Regions from separate parts of the Homo sapiens genome. Here all the other regions are linked to region 2. The links are contacts of gene promoters, found by promoter capture Hi-C in human tissues and cell types (Jung and others, 2019). All regions are on one chromosome and are shown on one strand. The core of a region is centred on a gene start or on the middle of the fragment in contact, and the rest is flanking DNA. Distances in the headings are between cores, read along the strand shown. Region 1 has its middle 18 kb from the start of SMIM34. Region 2 holds the start of KCNE1 (potassium voltage-gated channel subfamily E regulatory subunit 1). Region 3 overlaps LOC105372793 (salivary glue protein Sgs-3).

The links. The method cuts DNA at HindIII sites, captures the fragments that hold promoters and counts their contacts. A contact is called where the count stands out against the background at its distance.
Region 1: a contact is called between a fragment that was not itself captured here and the fragment with the promoter of KCNE1 in region 2, in 8 of the 25 tissues and cell types used here (IMR-90 fibroblasts, adrenal gland, aorta and 5 more).
Region 3: a fragment that was not itself captured here is called in contact with the fragment with the promoter of KCNE1 in region 2 in 5 of the 25 tissues and cell types used here (dorsolateral prefrontal cortex, heart right ventricle, lymphoblastoid cells and 2 more).

The regions. Positions count from the first base shown.
Region 1 is chr21:34,439,980-34,444,190 of GRCh38, reverse strand. No RefSeq gene overlaps it. Among named protein-coding and RNA genes, the nearest start is that of SMIM34, 18 kb to the right of the region's middle. The HindIII fragment of the contact is 5,928 bases long and covers 1-4,211 here.
Region 2 is chr21:34,509,851-34,514,021 of GRCh38, reverse strand. It overlaps KCNE1 (potassium voltage-gated channel subfamily E regulatory subunit 1), which reads left to right and starts at 1,812. Exons shown (of 4, transcript NM_000219.6): 1 at 1,812-1,995; 2 at 2,707-2,921. The HindIII fragment of the contact is 8,709 bases long and covers 1-4,171 here.
Region 3 is chr21:34,407,736-34,411,807 of GRCh38, reverse strand. LOC105372793 (salivary glue protein Sgs-3) reads right to left here. Exons shown (of 6, transcript XR_001755015.2): 2 at 3,860-4,072; 3 at 3,388-3,518. Among named protein-coding and RNA genes, the nearest start is that of C21orf140, 8.7 kb to the right of the region's middle. The HindIII fragment of the contact is 5,549 bases long and covers 1-4,072 here.

The DNA of each region.
Region 1 (4,211 bases), core at 1,702-4,201, 71 kb after region 2:
GTTTCACCATGCTGACCAGGCTGGTCTCGAACTCCTGTCCTCAGGTGATCCACCTGCCTTGGCCTCCCAAAGTTCTGGGATGACAGGCCTGAGCCACCATGAGTGGCGCCCAGCTAATTTTTAAATTTTTTGTAGAGATGGGGTCTCACTATGTTGCCCAGGCTGGTCTCCAATGTCTGGGCTCCAACGATCCTCTCACCTTGGCATCCCAAAGTGCTGGGGTTACAGGCATGAGCCACTGCACCCAGCTTCTGGTAAAGTCTTTGAGTAAACAGAATAATTGCATAAATAAAACAAATCTTAATACAAAAAATGAGTCAGGAGATTTAAAGCAATTGGCTCCTCAAGCACATTGGTCTGTCTATTTACCTGAGGTCAGTAAAGCAGTAGCCAAGTTATCACAGATATTCCCCCAAAATACTGGAATTTGTTGATCTGCAGGTGCAGTGGAAGGCAGTCTGGGTGCTGCTGCCCCCTGGTGGTCACTTTGAGGATATTGCTCAATGCACAGGGAACCCTGAGGACCGGGCAGCCAGGCAGGTGCCTGCTGGGGCTGGGTAAGGGGCTCTGAGTGCCTTTAGATGCCCCTGGGAGGCTACACTTCTATTCAGCCATCAAGTTCAGGGAGACGGGGCCCATCGTGGGCACGACTATGAAATGGGAGGATGGATGCTGAGAAAGAGAAGCATTCTTCTAGAAGTTCCTTGCAAGGTAGCTCCTCTGAACAAAGGCCCTGGAGTCACAGCTCTAAATCCCTGAGAAGTTGCTAGGACCCCCTTCTCACTTCCTTTGGGCAGGAACCTGTTTAGCTCCCTCCCCTATCCCAGGAATATTCAGCACCTGGAAAATAATCTCTCCCCCAGACCTAAGTCCCTTTTGGTTTCAGGCCTGTGATCACTCATGCTATGCATGGAGAAGAGATTCCACCTCCTAGGTATCCCTAGACTCAGATCTTTTTATCACCTTCTATTCACCCCATTCGTGAGGGAAGGAGTCCCACTCTAGGGCTGGACACACAACACCCAACACTGGATAGGTGAGACCCACGGCAATTTTCTAGTCACATATACTCGTAGCCCAGGGGAAGGGCCACTGCAGGCTATGCAGGGCCACATGAGGTGGTGCTCAAGAGCAGAGTGAACAGCAGGGTTGTTGGACAGCAGGTTTGGTAGTAACAAGAGTGATATGGTTTGGCCGTGACCCCTTCCACATCTCATCTTGAATTGTAATTCCCATAATCCCCACATGTCGTGGGAGGGACCCAGTGGGAGGTGATTGAATCATGTGGGGGTTACCTCCATGCTGTTCTCATGACAGTGAGTGAATTCTCATGAGATCTGATGGATTTATAAGGGACTTTTCCCCCTTTTGCTCAGCACTTCTCCTTCCTGCTGCCACGTGAAGGAGGACATGTTTGCCTCCCCTTCTACCATGATTGTAGGTTTTCTGAGGCCTCCCAAGCCATGTGGAACTGTGAGTCAATTAAACTTCTTTTCTTTATAAATTACCCAGTCTTGGGTATCTTTATTAGCTGCCTGAGAACAGGCTAATACAGAGGGTGGAGTGGCCCCTGGTTTCTTCATGAGGTTGTTAAATAATTCCGCAGACTGGCAGGGAACTGAAGCCTGCTACTTGGCAACAAACAGGGGTGGTACCTGGTCCCTGGGATGAGAAGGGTTGCCCAGCTGGGAGACCCTATTTATGGGAGCAGAGGTGGGACAGGAGCTTGCATTTAGGCCACTTGAGGCCCTTCACATTTTACCACATGTCAAGGCAGCACGTAACATTGGCCTTGATTTTATGCTTTATGCCGCTGCTAGAGATGGCTGGGCAGGTGCTGCACTGAGTCCAGCACTGGGCCTTAGGGGATGAGCAGGGGGTGAAACCCAGCCCCACTTCCCTAGCTGAGCCAGGGGCCCTGGAGTGGGGCAGTGGCTGCCTGGTAGGAGGAGTGCCTCTCCAGTTTGCTGGAAGGACACCATCTGGGCTCTTGGGCCTCTGCAGCCGGCTTGAACTCCCACATCCTTTCCTCCTCCAGCACCTGCCTCTGAAGGTGGATGAGGTCACCATTGCAGCCTCCCCAGGAGTAGGGAGAAAGGGACAATGAGAGGAATCAGTGGAGAAATTCCACACCTTCCGATGGCCTCGCACATCACGAAAGGGGGTGAGAACAAGGCAGCAGGAGCAGGAGGGCCTCCATCTTGGATGGGATTAAAAATCTAAGCTGCTTTTCTTCCGAGGCTCAGCGAATTAGGGTAGTAAGGTGAGTGTCCCAGTTCCTGTCTTGTCATAGAGAGGAGGAATGAGAGAAGTTGCTGCTTGTCTCAGGCTTCCACAGAATGGAAGGCCAGGTCCCTGTCACGGCCCCGTCATGCCCCGGCCTGCTCATCCACTCCTCTGTCCCCACGTGGTGTCTCTCCCCTCACGCCAGACAATCCTCAGACACAAGCCCCCTCATGCAGTTTCACAGCAAGGAGATGGGCAGGTCCACTTCCAGTGGGTCAGGAAGGCTCCCCCAGCACCCGCGAAGGCAGGACTCGGGGTCACTTGGCAATGAAAGGCCTGAGTTAATGTGAGGAATGGAGAATCCACAAGCTTTGAGGGAAAACTGGGAGATGCAGAGAGAGGAACCCAGGCTTCAAGAGGACTTTCAAAACACAGCTTTTCTAGGAAAATTAAGTGGGTGATTATCTTATTTCCTGTGGCTGCCATAACCAATGACCACAAAAATCAGTGGCTTCAAACAACAGAAATGTAATCTCTCATGGTTCTGGAGGCTGGAAGTCCAAAATTAAGGTACCAGCAGGGCCAGGCTTCCTCGTAGGCTCCATGCCTTCTGAGGATCCTTCCTGCCTCTCTCAACTGCAGGTGGCCGCTTGCATCCCTTGGCTTGTGGCTGCATCACTGTCTCCTCCACCTCCATCTTCACGTGGCCTTCTCTCCTGTGTGTCTGTATGCCCTTTCATGTCTCTTATAAAACATTTATCCAATTTTACCATAAGCTAATTAATATAAACAAGAGTTAAGTTCCTATGGCCTGTTTCTGGTCACAAAACATCACCAAACTTACAAAGACCTCAAACACTTCTAATACTAAACATTGAAATAAATGTGAGCCATACATACATTTAGGAAAGATTAATACAAACAAGTGAAAGCTGAGCACGGTGGCTCACGCCTGTAATCCCAGCACTTTGGGAGGCTGAGGCAGGCAGATCACCTGAGGTCAAGAGTTCAAGACCAGCCTGGCCAACGTGGCAAAATCCTGATTCTACTAAAAATACAAAAATTAGCTGGGCATGGTGGCGCATGCCTGTAGTCCCAGCTACTCAGTAGGCTGAGACACAGGAATCACTTGAACCCTGGAGGTGGAGGTTGCAGTGAGCCGAGTTAGTGCCACTGCACTTTAGCCTGGGCAACAGAGTGAGACTCTGTCACAAAAACAAACAAACAACAACAACAACAAAAAACAAGCGAGAATATTATTGACTGGCTTATTCCACTTCAGAGCTGTGGATGGCAGAGCCCATCCCAGAGGCACAGGGTCAAGGCAGACACCAACCCTGGACAGGGTCCTCTTCCATCATAGGGCACACTCACCCACTTCCACACTCGCTCACACTGGGACCATGTAGACATGCCAGTTCACCTACCGTGCATAGCTTTGGGATGTGGGAGGAAACTGGAGGACCCAGAGGAAACCCACACAGACATGGGGAGAACGCACACCCTCCACAGAGACAGTGGCCTGGCTAGGAATTGACTTTTTTTTCTCATCAACTTTATAGCAAAATGATGTTGAATGAGATAGTGTCATCCAAGGACCTGCTGTATAATGACATGTATCCACCATCGTAGTAATATACAGAGCATTTTCGCTGCCCTTAAAGTCCTCTATGCTCTACCTGGTTATCTTCCCCCCACCCGTCTCAACTGCTGGCAACCACTGATGTTTTCACCATAGTTTTGCCTTTTTCAGAATGTCACATAGTTAGAGTCATACAGTATGTAGCTTTTCATAAGGGCTTCTTTCACTCAGTCATATGCATTTCAGTTTCCTCCATGTCTTTTCATGTCTTGATAGCTCATTTCTTTTTAGCACTGAATAATATTCTACTGTGTGGATACACCACAGTTTATTTATCCATTCACCTACTGATGGACATCTTGTTTGCTTCCAAGTTTGGGCAATAATAAATAAAGCTTGCTAT
Region 2 (4,171 bases), core at 563-3,062:
GGCACATTCATGATGCAGTGACTTTCAAACCCATCAGCCTGGGAACCCAGAAACTTCTTGCATTATTGGTCACAATAAGCGCTACTGAAATGATTGACTCTTTAATATTTCTCCTGCAGGTGTCTATTAGGAATGTCTCTTCCCCCTAAGAATCGTTGCCAGCTACTCCCGCTGGGTCTCCCATCATGCCCCCTTCTTTTCCATTGTATGGCATATTTTCTTTTTTATCGTAATTGTTAAATTGTTTGTCTTCCCTGTTGAAACATAATTTGGGTGGAAGTGGGATTCCTGGTAGCCAATGGCTCATAGTAGACGTTCAACACGCAAGTGGATTGGATAGATGGAAGGATAGATGGGTAGATGGAAAGTTGGATGGATGGATGGATGGATGGATGGATGGATGGATGGATGGATGGATAGGGATTTTGGAGGAAGAGGAGTGAGCAGTCACTGAAAAGAATAGAAAAATAATGAGGCTTGCTCCCTCTCCCTAGTCAGAAGAGCCAGTAAGCAGCTTAGAGCTTTAATCCCACAAATTGTCAGGCAGCTGGCGCAAGAACAGGGAAAAAGAGAGAGAGAGAGAGAGAGAGACCCTGTCTGTGGTAGGTTATGGTCATCAGTGAAAAAGAACAAAAACCTTTGTTTTAAAACTCTCCTCAAAACAGATGATTGGCTAGAGGGTGCGGCACAAAGGAACTTGTCAGGGTGATGGAGACATTCTGTATCTGGATTGAGCAATGCAAGAACCTGGGTAAAGACACAGTCATGGTAACAGCTGTATACATCTGTTGAAAACTCATCAAACTTATCATATTTAGAAAGGGTACATTTTGCTTCATGTAAAGTATGCCTCAATAAAGTGTACTTGATTTTAAAATCAGGATAAAGGAAAAAAACATTGATCTTGGATAATGGGCAGGGGTTGGGGAGAAGGTCTTAATTATCATCATATCCTTTTAAAAACGTTTTTCAAGTGTGTGATGCTCTGATGACATTCTTAAGACACAGCAAGGCAAAGCAGTATCCCAAATGAGAGAGTGAGCATTCCAATAAATATTTTCTGTAAGACACTGATATGTCTATGACTATTTGCTAAATTTAAAAATCAACTTGGACCATATTTACTCCCTTAAAGTCTAATAGACGACTAATTTCTTCTATGTTCAGAACAAATATGTTGCTACTTTAAGAACAGCATACATAGGTGTGGTCGGCCCTCTGTGTCTAAGGCTTCTGCATCTGTGGATTCAACCAACAATGGACTGAAAATATTCCAAAAATAAAATAAAATTAATGAAACAACAACAAAAATAAAACAAATAAAAAAATGCCAGGTAACAACTACTTACAAAGCATTTACATAGTATTAGGTGTTAGAAGTAATCAAGAGATGATTTAAATCACCATCTATGATTGGCTGATATGCATAGGTTATATGCAAATACTATGCCACTATATATAAAGGACTTGAACATTCGCAAATTTTGGTATCTGCAGGGGATTCTGGAACCAAACCCCATGGATACCAAGAGACAACTATATATAAAATACTGAAAGAGGCATGGAGAGTGATTTTCAGGCCTCTACCTAAAGCCCTGAATATTAGAAATTACTGAATTTCTTCTCAGGAAGGAAATTACGCCATAAACCAGTGTTGCCACACACCCAGAGAACAAGATGACCCGACGCCCCAGCCTGGTCATGCCACATGAGCTGAGCAGTGGGTAGGCCACTGAGCCAGTGATAGAAATCACAAATTACAAAACGTCAGAGTACTTTCTGGAAATAAGCCTTCCTCTCCAGGGAACAACGCATTTGACACTTGACTGGGATACACTACCGGATCCTCCGAGGGTGATGGTTCTCAAGAAGGCAGAAGCAATGGTGACCAATAGACCTCCTTAAAGGCTGAGCCGCTGGGCACCTTCCTACTCCTCTCGACCGTGCTAGGATGACTGCAGCAGAGTCCCCGAGTCCTTTGATGCAAGGGTCTAGGTGAGTTCGAAGGAGAGCCATACTAGGCCAGGCAGAAAGGCCCATGGTGATGGCTGTCCACCCTGGTCAGGGGAATTCTAGGTTCAGGCCATGCGGCAAGGTCACCTTGAGGGACATGCTTTGCTCTAAGCTCAGCTTAAGTGTGTCTGAACCCCCCTCACTTCTTCCAACTGCAGAAGCACATGGAGAAGGGGGAGAAAGGGTTGCCCACCTCCTAAAATGAGGGCAGCGTGGTGAAGAGCCCCATCATGCCCCACCAAGGTCCTGTGTGCAGGGCAGGGCAGTGCCTATCCAGAAGGCCAGACCTCTAACTGCTGCTCTGTAGGACGTCCGGGCCTCACATGCAGGCTCCTATAAGCTGGCTGTCTTGGCAAGAGGGCCCTGGTACAGCACTGTGTTCATCACAGAAAACCACACCGTACATAATTTGTAACAGACAGAAATGCATTTGGCTCATGGTTCTGGAGACTGGGAACCCAGGATGGAGGGGCCACATCTGGCAAGGGCCTTCTTGCCATGACATGGTGGAAGGTATCACAAGGTTGGGGAAGGAGGGGTGGGCGGGGCGGGAAGAGAGAGAGAGAGAACAAGAGAGAGAGAATCCATTCATAAGGGTGGAGCCCTCATGACTAAACACCTCCCATTAGGTCCCACCTCCCAACACTGTTGCTTTGGGGATTAAGTTTCCAGCTGGCTTTTTTCAAACCTTAGCAACCACCAAACAGACAAGCCCTTCGGCCTGTCCTGGAGGGCGTTGAATGGCATGGCCTGGAGCTCAACCAGGAGAACCGTGCTCAGGAGGAAGAGACCAGAAGGATAACTCAAAAAGTTCTGAGAAGTTCCTAAGACCACCTGAAGAGAAGGAGCCTGCTGCCAATGGTGTGGACACCGCAGTGTGCTTGAGGAGACTTCAGAAACGAGAACTGGTAGGAGAAGGGGGTTGCACAGACCCTTTCCTCAGTTAGGCACCCTCTGCTCCCACCCTCATGCCCACCCTGACATCAGGCTAAGGGAGAGGCGCTCATCCATTGACAGGTGCCAGGCTGTCCTGGGCCTGGCAAACCCTGGCCTTGTACACCCACTCTCCACACGTCTGCCCCCACCCTCCCAGGGGCAGGGCCGGGCTTCCCTGCAGAGACACAGGGCAAAGAGGGAGAGAGAAGGCCTCAGGCCAGGGCATGGCCTAGTGCCTCCCAGCGCCAGGTCCTGACAGCCTGAGAGAGCTGGAATCAAGGAAGGTGATCCTGGGCCCCAGACAGACGTCAGTGAGCTTCAGCCTCTGGTGGCTGCACACCAGCCAGGGCAGCAGCGCCCCCTCCTGCCTGTGTTCAGCTGTGTGGGCTGCAAGAGGACTAAGGAGAGTTTCAAGGAGGCAGGCAGTGGGGGAGGAAGTGTCCCAGGTAGAGGCTGAAGCTTTAAGGAGGATGGGAGGGGAGGCTTCACCCGGAAGGAGCTTTTGGAGCAAGGGCCTGAAGGAAATTGGGGAGAGAGCCTGAGTATCTTTGGTAACTGGGAAGAGAGCATTCCAAGCAAAGGGAAAAGAAGAGAGGCTGTCAGACAAGTGTGCACCCACCATGTCTGGGCACATCGAGAAGGACCCTGTGGCTGGAGGGGAGGAAGGAGGGGAGAATGGAAAGTGAGACCAGAGGTGACCTGACCAGGGCCTTCGGAGCCCCGGTGAGGGGCTCAGCGGGTGGGTGTCATGGGTGTGAAGAGGTAGGTCCCTCATCACCAGTCAGCAAAGCGTTCCCTGGGCTCAGCTGAAGTCCTGCTGGAGTGTGTGCCCCCTGGACTGGAGGGGATGGGATTGGTGGGAATAAAGTTGTGAGTTTGGAGTTGTGGTGAGCAGAGCACGAAGTGAGCCCCCAGCACTGCCACTTCCGCGTGAGGGGTGAACTGGCCCTGCACTCTCTCCCCTTGAGTGTGGGCAGGACAACCCTCTCTGCCTACAACGGCTCAGCACTCGTACTACTGTGGGACAGTGCTTCTGTGATTACGTTCCTTTATAGGAAAAATTGATTTTGCAGATGTAGGTAAGATCTGGACTCGTTTGACTTTGAGTTTATCAAGAAGGATGATTGACAGACACAGTGGCTACTTGAGAGTGGAGGGTGGGAGGAGAAAGAGGATCAGAAAAAAATAACTACTGGGTACTAGGTTTAGTACCTGGGTGACG
Region 3 (4,072 bases), core at 441-2,940, 100 kb after region 2:
TTGCCCATGGCACACAGGGCCCATGGCACACGCCTCCAGGACACAGCCCCAGAGAGGCTGTGGTGTGGCACTTGCAAGAGTCGAGGCACTGAGCATGTGCCATGGACTGAATGCTTTTGTCCTTTGTCCCCTGAAATCCACATGTTAAAGCCTTAATCCCCAATGTGATAGTATGGAGGTGAGATTTAGATGAGGTTTCGGGAGGTTTAGATGAGGTCGCGATTGTAAGGCCCCCATGATGGGATCAGTGCCCTTACAGGAAGAGACACCAGACCCCCCTCTCTCTCTGCACCTTGTGAGGACACAGCAAGAAGTGTTCTACCCGCGAACCAGGAAGCAGGTCCTCACCGGGTACCGAATCTGCCAACACCTTGATCTCAGACTTCCAGCTTCCAGAACTGTGAGACAGAAACGTGTGTTGCCTAAGCCATTTGTTTTAACAGCCCAAACTGACTAAGACACTCATCAGAGAAAAAGCAGCGCTGGACATGTGTTACAGGCGGCAAGACTGATTCCTTCAGACTCCTGCAGCAGCGGAAAGAGATTCCAGTACCGACCAAGCTCAACCCCAACTCAGAAAACGGTGACTGAGGTCTTCAAAGAGAGAACAGAAAGGGAACAAAAAGGGACTGAAGGAGAAATGAAAACAGAACGTGGGGGCCACGTGGAAATGGAAAGTTCCAGAACGGTGAGGGGAGAACTACTGAAAATGGTTTAGCGGGGTGGGCTGGACGAGGTGCATTTTGTGATTTGGCTGCATTGCAAAGTCTTGAGCCAAGACTCAGCCAGGGCTGGGGTCGCCTCTGGGGATGCAGCTTAGTGCAGGTGGAAGCCAGGCTACAGTTTGGTGAAGCCTCTCAGCACAGTGCTGGGGCGAGTCCTCTACACTCTGTGGAATTCCCAGTTCACTGGAGGCTCGCTAGCAGGGCAAGTGTGGCCCGAAGGTGCACTGTCCATGTCAGGCAGGCATGCAGGGAAGCCGGGGAGCTGACACCCTGCTGGGGGCAGGGGAGTGGGTGGCCTGGGGTGCCTTGGGTCCCATCAGCAGGGTCATGGGAAACAGCCTCCAGGCTGCACAGTGGTGGACAGCAGTGCTGGCTCCCCCTGTACCTGCCCACCAGCCTTGGCCCTCCTAGGCCCCGAAGGGTCGTTTCCTGCTGTCCAGTGACTGTAGACCAGCCCTGGCCCAGGAAACCCTATAAACTTCTCCTCCAACTATTTCTCCTGGAGAAGACAAGAGTGCCAATGGATTACTACAGTGCAGGGCAATTGAGCAAAGATGGGGATGAACTGGGGTCCCATGGGAGCAGGGAGGAGGGGCCAGGGAACCCTGGCCAGAAATAGGAAAGCAGTAATGGAAGGGACGACTCAGGAGAGGGAGTGCCCATCTCAGAGCCTTTCAGGAACCTGGCATTTAATAAATGCCTCCTCCAGAGGGAAGGATTCAGGCAGATCACTTCTAGAAGGGGTCACCGCCTCTCCAGGTTCTGCATGGTCCACAGCATATGTACAGTCCCCAGAAGCTAGACTCCTTCCAGGCCTGGTGTGGAGGGAACCTAAGTGTGTGATGGAGGAGAGTCTTCCACGGGCTATGAACTCTTTGTAAAAAACAAAACAAAACAAAACAAAAAAACAGCATGCATGCGATGCTGGGGGCTTAGGACAATATCTTAAAACAGAACTGAAACATTGGTGGATAAACCTCAGGACAGGCAGGAAAAGAGCCGTAGCTCATCCACCATCAGCATTAGCAATGTAATCAGACACAACGGAAAATCAATGAAGTAAAACCAACCAGCAGGATTATGTTGTTGAGCCTCCAATAAATGTCTTAAGTGTCCAATAGAGCCATATCGTTTTGATGACATGAATTTCTGTGTTGCTTTTCTGATTGCTCAAAATCCTGAAATTCTTTGGAGAGTATTATCAATGTCATTATCTTTGCCAGGAAGATGCTGAGCTGTCTTCCCTGAAGCAGTGTTCTCCCTGGGTTGTTTGAACCCCTGACTGTCACGTGCCTTCTGTCCTAAGCTGCCACCAAGGCCCAGACAAGCCCTGCCATGCATGTGTCTCTTTATTAATACATAGTACAGCAGGGAGCTGCCCCCTCTCCCAGCCAGGCAGGGCCGCTTATCCCACACCCCCTGCCTTGCAAGCACACTTAGTGTGGAGTATATTAGGAAGTTTAATTAGCAGAAAATAAATAAAGTAGGGATCCCAGCTTGAGCCCAGGCTGTCCCCTGCTGGGGTGGGACATGTCTGAACAGTGTTGATGAGAGTTTTATGAAAGACGCATCTCCTAGAGGAAAGGACATGGAGAGAAGTAAGTTTGATTCCCTCTCGGAGGAGCCTGAGTGCCCAGAAGTCCAAGCAAGAATCTTGAGCTGTATCTGGGAGTGGGGGTGCTTAGATCACGAGCATACTCCTGAACCCTGGCAATGGGGCAGAGCATGGAATGTGCTGACTGGCTTAAGCTTGGAGCAGGACTTGATGTGGCTTCCTCCAAAGGAACCTGAGTTCTGTGGGAGATGGATGAACATCTGAACAACTCAGGGCACTGCTGGGGATATGGAAGCTGGCAGGCAGCCCTTACCATTTGAGGTGCGATAGGGAGAGAGGATAACCAACGTTTAACAAACTCTATCAAATACTGGGTGCGTTGACACGTGCCAGCCCCAGGATGCTCTTAGAAACTCTATGAGGGGAGTGTAATTAGAGCACTGAGGCTCAGAGAGGTTAAGAAACTTGTATATTGTCACACAGCTAGCAAGAGTTTCAGGAAGCTAGATCTAACAGATTCCAAGGCCCATGTAATGTTTCCATCAGGTATTTGTCCAAAAAACACTTTTCCTTCAAGGTAAGGAGTGGGAAGGCTACTCGTATGGGGGCATGGTGTCCCAGCAGCCCACAGCTCAGTGCCAGACTGTGAGTGAGAAGACGAATGTGTGTCCCATCTCTGCCACTTCTGTCTGTGTGGCCTCAAGACCCTCACCTAGAAGGATGGCTGAAGTATCACTCCAGGCCTGGTGTCCTGACTTCTTGAACAACTGTCTAGGGTGTGCAAGCCAGCACATCCCCTTTTCTGCTCCCTAGTTAGATGGATTTAGCTAGGCTATTGCTTTGTGAGAATAGAGGGACCCAAGAGCCTCATTCTCCATCTATATAACTCAAAGACTTTGTATAAGTCAGGGTGAGCTGGTTTTGTCATGAGAAACAACCACCCCAAACTCTCAGTGGCTGCAGACAGCTGGCTTTCTTTCTTTCCCCCGCCACATGCGTGCAGCAGGTCTGCTGGTGGCTGTGCTCTGAGACTCAGGTTGCTCCTGCAGACCCTCTGGAAACATGGCCATTCTCAGCTCTGGAGGGACGAGTCCCTGAGTATCTCACCTGGACAATTAAATGCTCCAGCCTGGAAGAGACACGAGTCACGTCCATCCACCATTCATTGGCTAGAATAAGCCCATGGCTCCTCTCAACCGTGGGGGCAGGGAAGTCTCATCCCACCGGGGCCTGGAAGGCTGAGAACCAAAAGTTGGGCGAACAGTACTCATGGCTATCATAGAGTGGAACCAGTTCCAAGACTCTCAAACCATTTTTTGAGAGCAAGGGGAAGCCTAATCTCATTCTCTATTTTCTATCATCTTTTTTACTTATATAAACCCAAACCTCTCTTTATTAAAACATCTCTCTATATATATGTCTATTTTAAAAAGTCTCTCTCTATATGTCTTTGTGAGAAAAAAAAATGTGTTACGTTCCTTTCAAAACCAACCCTGAGGCTCTGGAAGCACTAATGTTCTCCACCCACAGTTCCCCACCGGCCCCTGATCAGACCTGGTTCTAGGACAGGGGTTCTCACCTTGGCTTCCCTGTAGAATCACCTGGAAGCTTGTAAAAATCCCATGGATGCCAGGTCTCACCCCAGGCCAATTCTGTCAGAACCTCTGAGCTGGTGCCAGGCAGAAGCAATTGGGTGAAACTCCCAGGAGATGCCTGGATGGGTCCAGGTTGAGTCTGCTGTTCCGGGTGAGCCCTGAAGCAGCTTCCAGCTCCGGGGCTGCCTCTTTCTTTC